3 separate regions of the Homo sapiens genome follow, and regions 2 and 3 are each linked to region 1. Evidence: promoter capture Hi-C in 16 types of primary human blood cells and fetal thymus (Javierre and others, 2016). All regions are on one chromosome and are shown on one strand. Each heading gives the region's core, a stretch centred on a gene start or on the middle of the fragment in contact. The rest is flanking DNA. Distances are from core to core; before and after follow the strand shown.

Region 1 (2,700 bases), core at 165-2,664:
CATGTTGGCCAGGATGGTCTTGATCTCTTGACCTCGTGATCCGCCCGCCTCAGCCTCCCAATGTGCTGGGATTACAGGCATGAGCCACCCGGGTACCTTGCCTAAACAAAGGAGAGTAGTCCAAGGGAACTGTGAAAGGCCCCTGCATGAGAGGAAGGGAGGGTTTGTTGTGTGTGTGTGGTTTTTGTTTTATTTTGGTAGGGTTTGGGTTCCTAATTACTCTACAAGGTGCACCAGAATTGGAGATATTTGTCCAAATTCATAAATTTTGAAAGAGAAAAAGAAATACATTCAGAGTACTATTATTCCCATTTCAAGATTGAAGAAATTCAGATTAAATTATTCTAATTTCGTGAGGAAGCTAGCATTTGAACTCAGTTCTCACGCCATATTCCAAATTGCCACACCAGATATCTGGCAGATTTAGGGAAGAGGAAAAAATTAAGCATCAATCTACCTGTGGCACCGTGTAATACCATTCTCAGGATTTTAACTTCTAACTTACTCTCTTTGAAACAGCGATCACAAAGGAATAGACAAGGGGACCACAAATCATTAAAACTGCTGTCAAACAAAATAGAGAACATTTTTCCTAAAAGTTATTTGTGTAGCGAATAACAAGTTTGACGTTCTCACTGGAAGGAAGAATATGAATAAATGAACGAGCTCCAGTAAGAAGTCTACAACCTGTCTTAGTGGTTCACTAAACTCACGTTTATTGAATGATTGTGTGGTTTCTCTGCAAAGAGCAGTTTTGGACGAAAAGACCCGAGGTTATTTACAAAACAAGAAGCTCACATAGGAACTGATCCAGTAAGGAGGATCCCGAAGAGAGACAGACAAATCATTTTTTGCATTGTTTTGTTGGAAACGCCGGGCACTGCCAACAGTGTTTTACATCACTGTTCCTCAAATTTTAATGTGCATTTGATTCCTGGAAATCTTGTTAAAATATAAGTTTTGATTCCATAAGTCTGGTGTGGAGCTGAGACCCTGAATTTCTAAAAAGCTCCCCAAAGATACCCACACTGTCAGTAGGGGTGGGAGTGGCGGAGCCGACTACAGGGGAAAGCTTCACTTTGAGTGATCGAGAGGCTCTACGCAACTGGAAAGAAGAAACTCAAAATCCCTCGTACAGAGAGAGACTCACCAGCCCCCGACCCCCGGGCAGCAGTAAAGCGAGCTGGGCACTGCGCCTAGAATCCCAGTTCTTACCCCAGGATCAGAAGCGCGCTCTGCAGCTGTCCCCGCACCTCCAGAAACACGCGCGTCTCCGCCGCAGAAGCCGCCATGGCAGGCTTCCAGTCCCAGACCGGACCAAGCTGGAGGTTCCGAGGGGCCCGGGTCAACAGGACCAGGAGAGGTTCCACGTGCGGACCAACCAGCGGCAGCCCCGCTGCGGCGCAGGCGCCTGTGCCAGATCGCAGGGCTGGCGCCGCCTACCAGCTCACAGCGCCACCTGCCGGCCGGAGAGTGCACCACCGAGAAGGCGCGTGACCCCGGAGGCCGGGGCGGGGCGCGCATTTTCAAAACCAGGCTTTGGCCCAGAGTGCTGAGAAAGGTGGGCGGCGAGAGGCTAGCTATCGCCCCACTCTGCTTCTTATGAGCGTGACTTGGCGCGTTAGCATCCCTGGAAATGACCATAAAAATCAGACCCAGGGTTCACACCTTTGGCTAGCTCGAAGGGAGGGAGATGATGGAGGCAAGTGTTACAGGTGGGCTTTGTCCCCAGGAGATGCAAGAACAGAATTCCCGGCCCCAAACCCACTTTATCTTGGTCTCTTTATGAACAAGGGTCGTTTGTTAGCCTCTATCTAAAGCGACAAAATTTTCAAGAATTGACTTGCCATTGCTTCTCAACTTAGACAGGATAGCTCCAAAATTGAAACAGGTGCAAAAATATAAGGAAGTTCTTTGTTACCTAATGCAGAAGAGTGTGGCTGAAGTCTATCAGGACTAACCATTTTTTAGGGGGTAAAAAAGGAAGATGAGAATGATTACGTATGTACAGCTCCACTATTCACTTTCACAAAAGTAAAAACTAAGAGAAGTTGGAGAAGTTTACTACCAGAAGATAGTTTTGAAAAGTTTGACACAGTAAAGAACCTGGTATAATGTAAATACTTATAATGAAGAACTATTAAAATATAAGACCGGGTAGAATTACAATAGGGCTTCTTAAAAACAAGGAGCTGCTTTTATTTATTTATTTTTTTTCGGAGTCTCGCTCTGTCGCCAAGGCTGGAGTGCAGTGGCGCGATCTCGGCTCACTGCAACCTCTGCCTCCTGGGTTCAAGCGATTCTCCTGCTTCAGCCTCCCGAGTAGCTGGGATTACAGGCGCACGCGCCACCATGCCCGGCTAATTTTTCTGTTTTTGGTAGATCCGCCCACCTTGGCCTCCCAAAGTGCTGAGATTACAGGTGTGAGCCACCATGCCCAGCCTAAACCATAAATAAATTCTAAATAAATAAATCCTGTCATATATTTTAAGATAATAGCTTGACAATTTTTCTAAAATCAGTATTTGGGGTGATTAAAGTTTATTATGTTGATGCACAAATTATTATATCTATCACAATAATTTGAAGTTATAGATGGAAGCAACAACTCACTTAAAAAAATAAAGTTTACTATTATTTGGTCTCAAATAATTCATCTATTTGAAGGATGATGATTTCAACTCTTCATATCTTCCACCT
Region 2 (2,700 bases), core at 113-2,612, 3.5 Mb before region 1:
TAAAATGATACTTTGTCAACTTAGAGAATCAAAACAAACTATTATTTCCTATAACTTATTTGGATAAACATACTAGCTAACATGGGAAATCACAAAGTGAAATATTTAAAATGGTAATATAGAATTTAAATGTGGAACAACTGGAAAAAAACATAGATTAAAATAACCATGCAAAAGAAAGAGGGAATGAGTAAAGAACTGGAAACATCGGTTTTACCATTCTAAAACACATATAGCCACTCCCTCTGCCAAAAACTAAATGATGACTTCTGATTGCAAAGATATCTCTAATGCAAGTTCTTAACGTGAAGATAAAGGAGGGGAATAAATATGTATGTGCCCAAGTATACTTTCCAAAGAACAAAGTGAACAAAAAAGGGGTTTATATCAGATGAACTGGACCAGGGCTCTTCACTGTTAAACACTATCCCACGGTCTATCTAACGTAAACATCACGTATCTGAGTACCGACTCCAACTCGAGTATGCCAAAAAGGCACTTTCTTTTTTCTTTTATTTCTAACCATCTTTACTCCTCTCATCCCATCCCTGAAGGATGTATAGAAGTATCACAGCCTGGACAAGTACGGCTTTCCACTCTAACCACAGTTTTAATAATAACACATCTATTATTATCCGAGAGCTACCAAAGCCTCCTTTTCCGTCTTGGCCCTTGGCCCTGCCCCTCCTCTCTAGTCTTGAGTCTCCACGGGCCTCCGGGGTTTTTGTTTTGTTTGTTTTAATAACAACCACTTCTCTAGATCCGCTTGCTCCCTTTCTTCTCTTCTCGGTCCCAGGAAGTAAATACCCTTTCCCAGCTCCTCTCCTCCTAACTTCCCAGTCCCCCCAGTGCCGGTCAACCTCCCTTCCTCGGGACCCTCTCAGAAGCCGAGCTCTTTACTCATTTTCCTAGGTCTTCCTTCTCCTCGCGGTCCCTACATCCTCCCCCATCCCTAATCCCTTCATCTTCCCTGCTTTAAGAACCACCCGCAGGCCCCCATCCACGAACGCCCCTTCACTAGCTACCAGACGCTTCAACCCAGCCTCACCTCGCACCTCCACCTCCCCCGCCGTCTCCACGCCCACTTCAAAGCCCACCTCCAACCCGCAGGCTCTTCAGCAGAGCCGATGCGGCGTCCCGCCTCCTTGCCTTCCCTCTTAGGACCAAACTCCCAGCTGGGGCCTCGGCGTCTGACCGCCAAAGAGCGGGTGCCTGGTTCCTGCGGAGGCTGCCGGGCGGGTGCCGAGGTTGCCGAGATGCGGGAGGTTTGAACACAAGGATGGGACAGAGGCGAGGATCGGGGCTCCTGGGTGGCAGCGGCGGTAACCTGGGCTCCAGGGTAACGGAGGCGGAGGCCTAGACTGCACTACGAAGAGACCGCAGCCAATCATGATGACTCTACCCGAGCTCCCATTGGCTTCTGTCTCCAGACGGCCCTTTTTATTGGCTTCAGTGGAACTGGAAGGCGGGACGGCGAGTGCGGGAGAAGGTCTCCATTGGCCGACCGCTCTAGCTGTAGCGGAGACCCCCAAGTAGGGAAATTGGGGCAAAACGCGGAGCGCTCCAGGCTCCTACGGGCTGTGCGGTGCCAGGGCTCGACTGCTGAGCGTCGTGGGCTCCGAGAGGGACGCGGGCGGAGGGCAAAGTGGGTTCATGATATGAATTGTAAAATTGGCGACTGCGTAATGTAAAACACTTAACAATTGCTTAGATTTCCTTTGGGAAATAACTTGCTTTTAAATTGTAAACAAATTACAAACAAACTGCTAGTGCTTCTGGATCTTCTTACCGAAATGGCTGATTCAGGAGGATGCGGGGTGAGTGCACTATTGTTCCTGCCTCGAGATCCTGGCTGTGAATCACCAACGAGCCGTGAGTTTGGCTTGAAAGTGATTTTTAGGTTTTGGAACGGGTTTGGGGTGGAATGGCATCTGAAATATTTGCACACAAGTTTTTTTTTTTTTTTTTTTTTTTTTTTTTTTTTTTTAAGGAACGTTTTGAGGAGCATGTCAGCCTATTGAGCGCTGATGTGTGACATATTTTCTCTTTTAGAAATGGCATTAATTGCGGGAGACAGGGAAGGTAAAAAAAAATCCTCTTTCGTGAGGGCTTTAAACTGCTCCGAGCCATCTGATTATCAAGGTGGTTTAACACTACTCTGGTGTTCTCACTATTGTTAATTTCTCACTGGCCTTTTTACCACCATTCTGTAGAGAATCTAATATTTGAAGGCAAATGCGTTTAATGAATCTTCTAACCATGAAGATTGGTAATTCCTGCTTCTCGCTCAACCTCGTTTTTCCACCTTTGCACTGTTTCAAAGCTTTCATTTTATCCTGTCAATACATTTTACTTCAAGTTACAGACTAACCCACCCAAACAATATTGTGATTAAATGTAATTTTCTGTATGCGAAATACATCTGTACAAGATGGCAGTCATCTGTTAGTGAAAATAAGATGAGTAATCCCTAAATTGCACGGAATTACTTTTCATCAATTCTTTAATCTGTCTCTGCTGACACTGTTAAAATAGCTCACTCGTTATTATGGACTCTGTTAGAATTAACATGTAAATGTATGGGTGGATTACTTATAAAGGAAGTTGCTAGGAAGAATCAGAAAACATACCGTATTTACGTGGACAAATGTCTGTCACAGGAGCGTCAGATCAGGATTGCTGAAGGAGAGCTGAGAATGA
Region 3 (2,700 bases), core at 19-2,518, 4.1 Mb after region 1:
GTCCCCTCCTGCCCATACTTGCTTGCTTGGTGCATCACTTCTGTGGTAAAGCTTTATCTCCTTAGTGTAGAGGAGCTGTGCCTGTACATCTGTCTCAGGTTGAGTGTCCTTTTGGGGCGGTTTTTCCAGAGTCCGTTTCTCATTTGCTTTCGCCCTTCGAGGAGTATGATTTCCACTATCCTTTCTGTCCCGATCACCCCCTCACCCCTGTTTCTTGGAGTCCTTCCTATTTGGCTTCCTGATGAAGTGGGAGAAGACTGAGGTTCATGTGGATCTGTGCTTTGGGTAGTTTCAAATCTTTTCTTTGCTTGCCCAAGGGCACTGCTCACCAGTGACTGCATTCTAACCAGAATTTGGAATGTTAATAACACTGTTTGCTAGTGATGAAAATCATTTCATCCATGGTGAAAATCGGAGAGTTTGGGACTACATTTGCACTTCATTACGAGCCTTACACTTAGGTTTAAAATTTCAAGGTAGTGTTGCTGGCTCTGGTGAAGACTTTGATTTGATTGTCTTGAGGAGGAAAAAGAAGACACAATTTACACAGGTCATATTTAGAGTTAACTTGTGAGTGTATCATTACAGAGAATTCGTTTTGGAAAAATACTGATCTTAACGTAGAACAATGGTTGACCATTTTAGCTGAGTAGATTACATTTTCACTTATTTTTTAGCTTCCAAATATTGAAATATTTTCTTTATTATGTCGGGGATACGTGATCACATACAAAAGAATCTCCGTTGCTGTATGCACTTTATTGTCACAAATTATTTGATGGCTGTTCATAATCTTAAAAACAAAAACTGTGAGATCAAGTGGTGACGTCTAGGAGGATGTGCAATGTGAAAGCTCCCTACTTAGGTAAATAGGTCTGGTGAGTACCTGTGGCAAAATTAAAGTCTCATTCCTTTGAATTTTAATATTTAAAAATTGTTGAAATTTCTCAGTTTCTCTACTTTGCAGTACCCACTCATTCTTAATTGGTCTTTAAAGATTTATTTTAGAGATAAAAAAATTTCTCTAAGATACCCATAATAGGAAGTATTTCATTTGTAAGTCGAATCAGTTTTTATATAATAATCAGTGAAAACTATTAAAGTCTAGCTTTGCTGAAAGACATTTTCCCCTAATAGTGTCCACTGATAGTTTTAAGGCTAATTACTGTAAATTCTTTTTTTGTCAGCAGTATTTGTAAGCAGGATTAATAATTCTGGGAAAATAGAATCTCATGCAAGCTGGACTCCCCCCCGCTTTTTTGTGAGTGTGTGACGTTGTAAAGTTATCACTTAAAGATTTTTATTTATTTATTTATTTTTGAGATATGGAGTCTTGCTCTGTCACCCGGGCTGGAGTGCAGTGGTGCGATCTCAGCTCACTGCAGCCTCCATCTCCTGGGTTCAAGCGATTTTCCTGCCTCAGCTTCCCAAGTAACTGGGACTACAGGCGTGCGCCACCAAGCCCAGCTAATTTTTGTGTTTTTAGTAGAGATGAGGTTTGGGGTTTCACTGTATGTCGGCCAGGCTGGTCTCGAACTGCTGGTCTCGAACTGCTGACCTCAAGTGATCCACCCACCTCTGTTTCCCAAAGTGCTGGGATTACAGGTGTGAGCACCGCGTCCCGCCAGACTTGAGTTTTTTAATGAGTGAAACAGCATTTTAAAAATCAGAATGAAAGTAATTTCCTATATCAGTTTCATTAAGTGATTAGTCTTGCCACATAAATTGTTATTGATGCTACTGACAAAAAAACATCAAACACTAATGAAACAAATGCTGGATTTGTGGATTTCAAAAATTATAAAATATTTCATACACTGTAAGCTCAGAATAATTTAAATACACTTAAAAGTAATCTCCATTTGAAACGATACAGAGTGTGTCTGATTTCCTCTGGAACATTTTCTGGGGTGGGGTTTTTTGTTTTGTTTCTCAGGTAACCTATTTATGTTAGTGATCTTGTCAAGTGGAGGTAACTTGAAACAATTGTTTATTTATGTTTATTTACAGGGGTGGAGGTGGCTCACACCTGTAATCCCAGCAGTTTGGGAGGCCGAGTTGGGCGGATCGCTTGAGCCTGAGCAGCATGGCGTGGCCCCTTCTCTACAAAAAATACAAAAAACAAAACAAATCAAAAAAATTAGCCAGGCGCTGTGGCGAGTGCCTGTAGTCCCAGCTACTTACGAGGCTGAGGTGGGAGGATCATTTGAACCCGGGAGGCAGAGGTTGCAGTGAGCAGAGATGGTGCACTGTGCACACTCCAGCCCGGGTGACAGAGAAAGATCCTGTCTCAAAAAAATAAAAAATAAAAATAAAATTGTATCTTAGCAATTATCACCTAGCATTTTGATACGAAGTTGAGTGAAGCAATGGTTAACAATTAAAGAATTTATTGGCGCAATCTAAATATAGTACCAGGGATACTAGGAGCTAGAAATTATGTCTTAGTTTCTAACCTTGAGATTATTATTTAACTTTTTCTGTTTAAGCTTTTCCTGTAAAACTGGGATAGTCACACGCTTCAAGAAGGCAAAGATGAATAAACGTTTGTCAAAGTTAATGGGCTTCAGAATTAATATTCTGTCAGTGTTGATGCTCAGTGCTTGTGTAACCCTTAGTTTTGCATTTACTTTAAAAAATGAATTAGTTTACATTCTATGTAATTTTTATGAGCAAAAGTTCAGTTTCTGGAGAATGTGG

Evidence for each region. Contacts are between HindIII fragments. The CHiCAGO score rates a contact against its expected background, and 5 or more counts as called.
Region 2: the fragment with the promoter of LCA5 here is called in contact with the fragment with the promoter of UBE3D in region 1 in 1 of 17 cell types (activated CD4 T cells); the score reaches 6.0 in activated CD4 T cells.
Region 3: a fragment that was not itself captured here is called in contact with the fragment with the promoter of UBE3D in region 1 in 1 of 17 cell types (total CD4 T cells); the score reaches 7.3 in total CD4 T cells.

Annotation. Positions count from the first base shown.
Region 1 is chr6:83,064,427-83,067,126 of GRCh38, forward strand. UBE3D (ubiquitin protein ligase E3D) reads right to left here and starts at 1,415. Exons shown (of 10, transcript NM_198920.3): 1 at 1,216-1,415. The coding sequence starts at 1,292. The HindIII fragment of the contact is 10,412 bases long and covers 1,071-2,700 here.
Region 2 is chr6:79,536,068-79,538,767 of GRCh38, forward strand. It overlaps LCA5 (lebercilin LCA5), which reads right to left and starts at 1,363. Exons shown (of 8, transcript NM_001122769.3): 1 at 1,098-1,363. It also overlaps a transcript of SH3BGRL2 not described here. RefSeq lists enhancers at 1,259-1,832, 1,827-1,876, 2,407-2,700. The HindIII fragment of the contact is 3,782 bases long and covers 1-2,321 here.
Region 3 is chr6:87,156,385-87,159,084 of GRCh38, forward strand. All of the region lies in intron 1 of ZNF292 (zinc finger protein 292), which reads left to right. Among named protein-coding and RNA genes, the nearest start is that of ZNF292, 2.2 kb to the left of the region's middle. RefSeq lists an enhancer at 1-607. The HindIII fragment of the contact is 2,438 bases long and covers 50-2,487 here.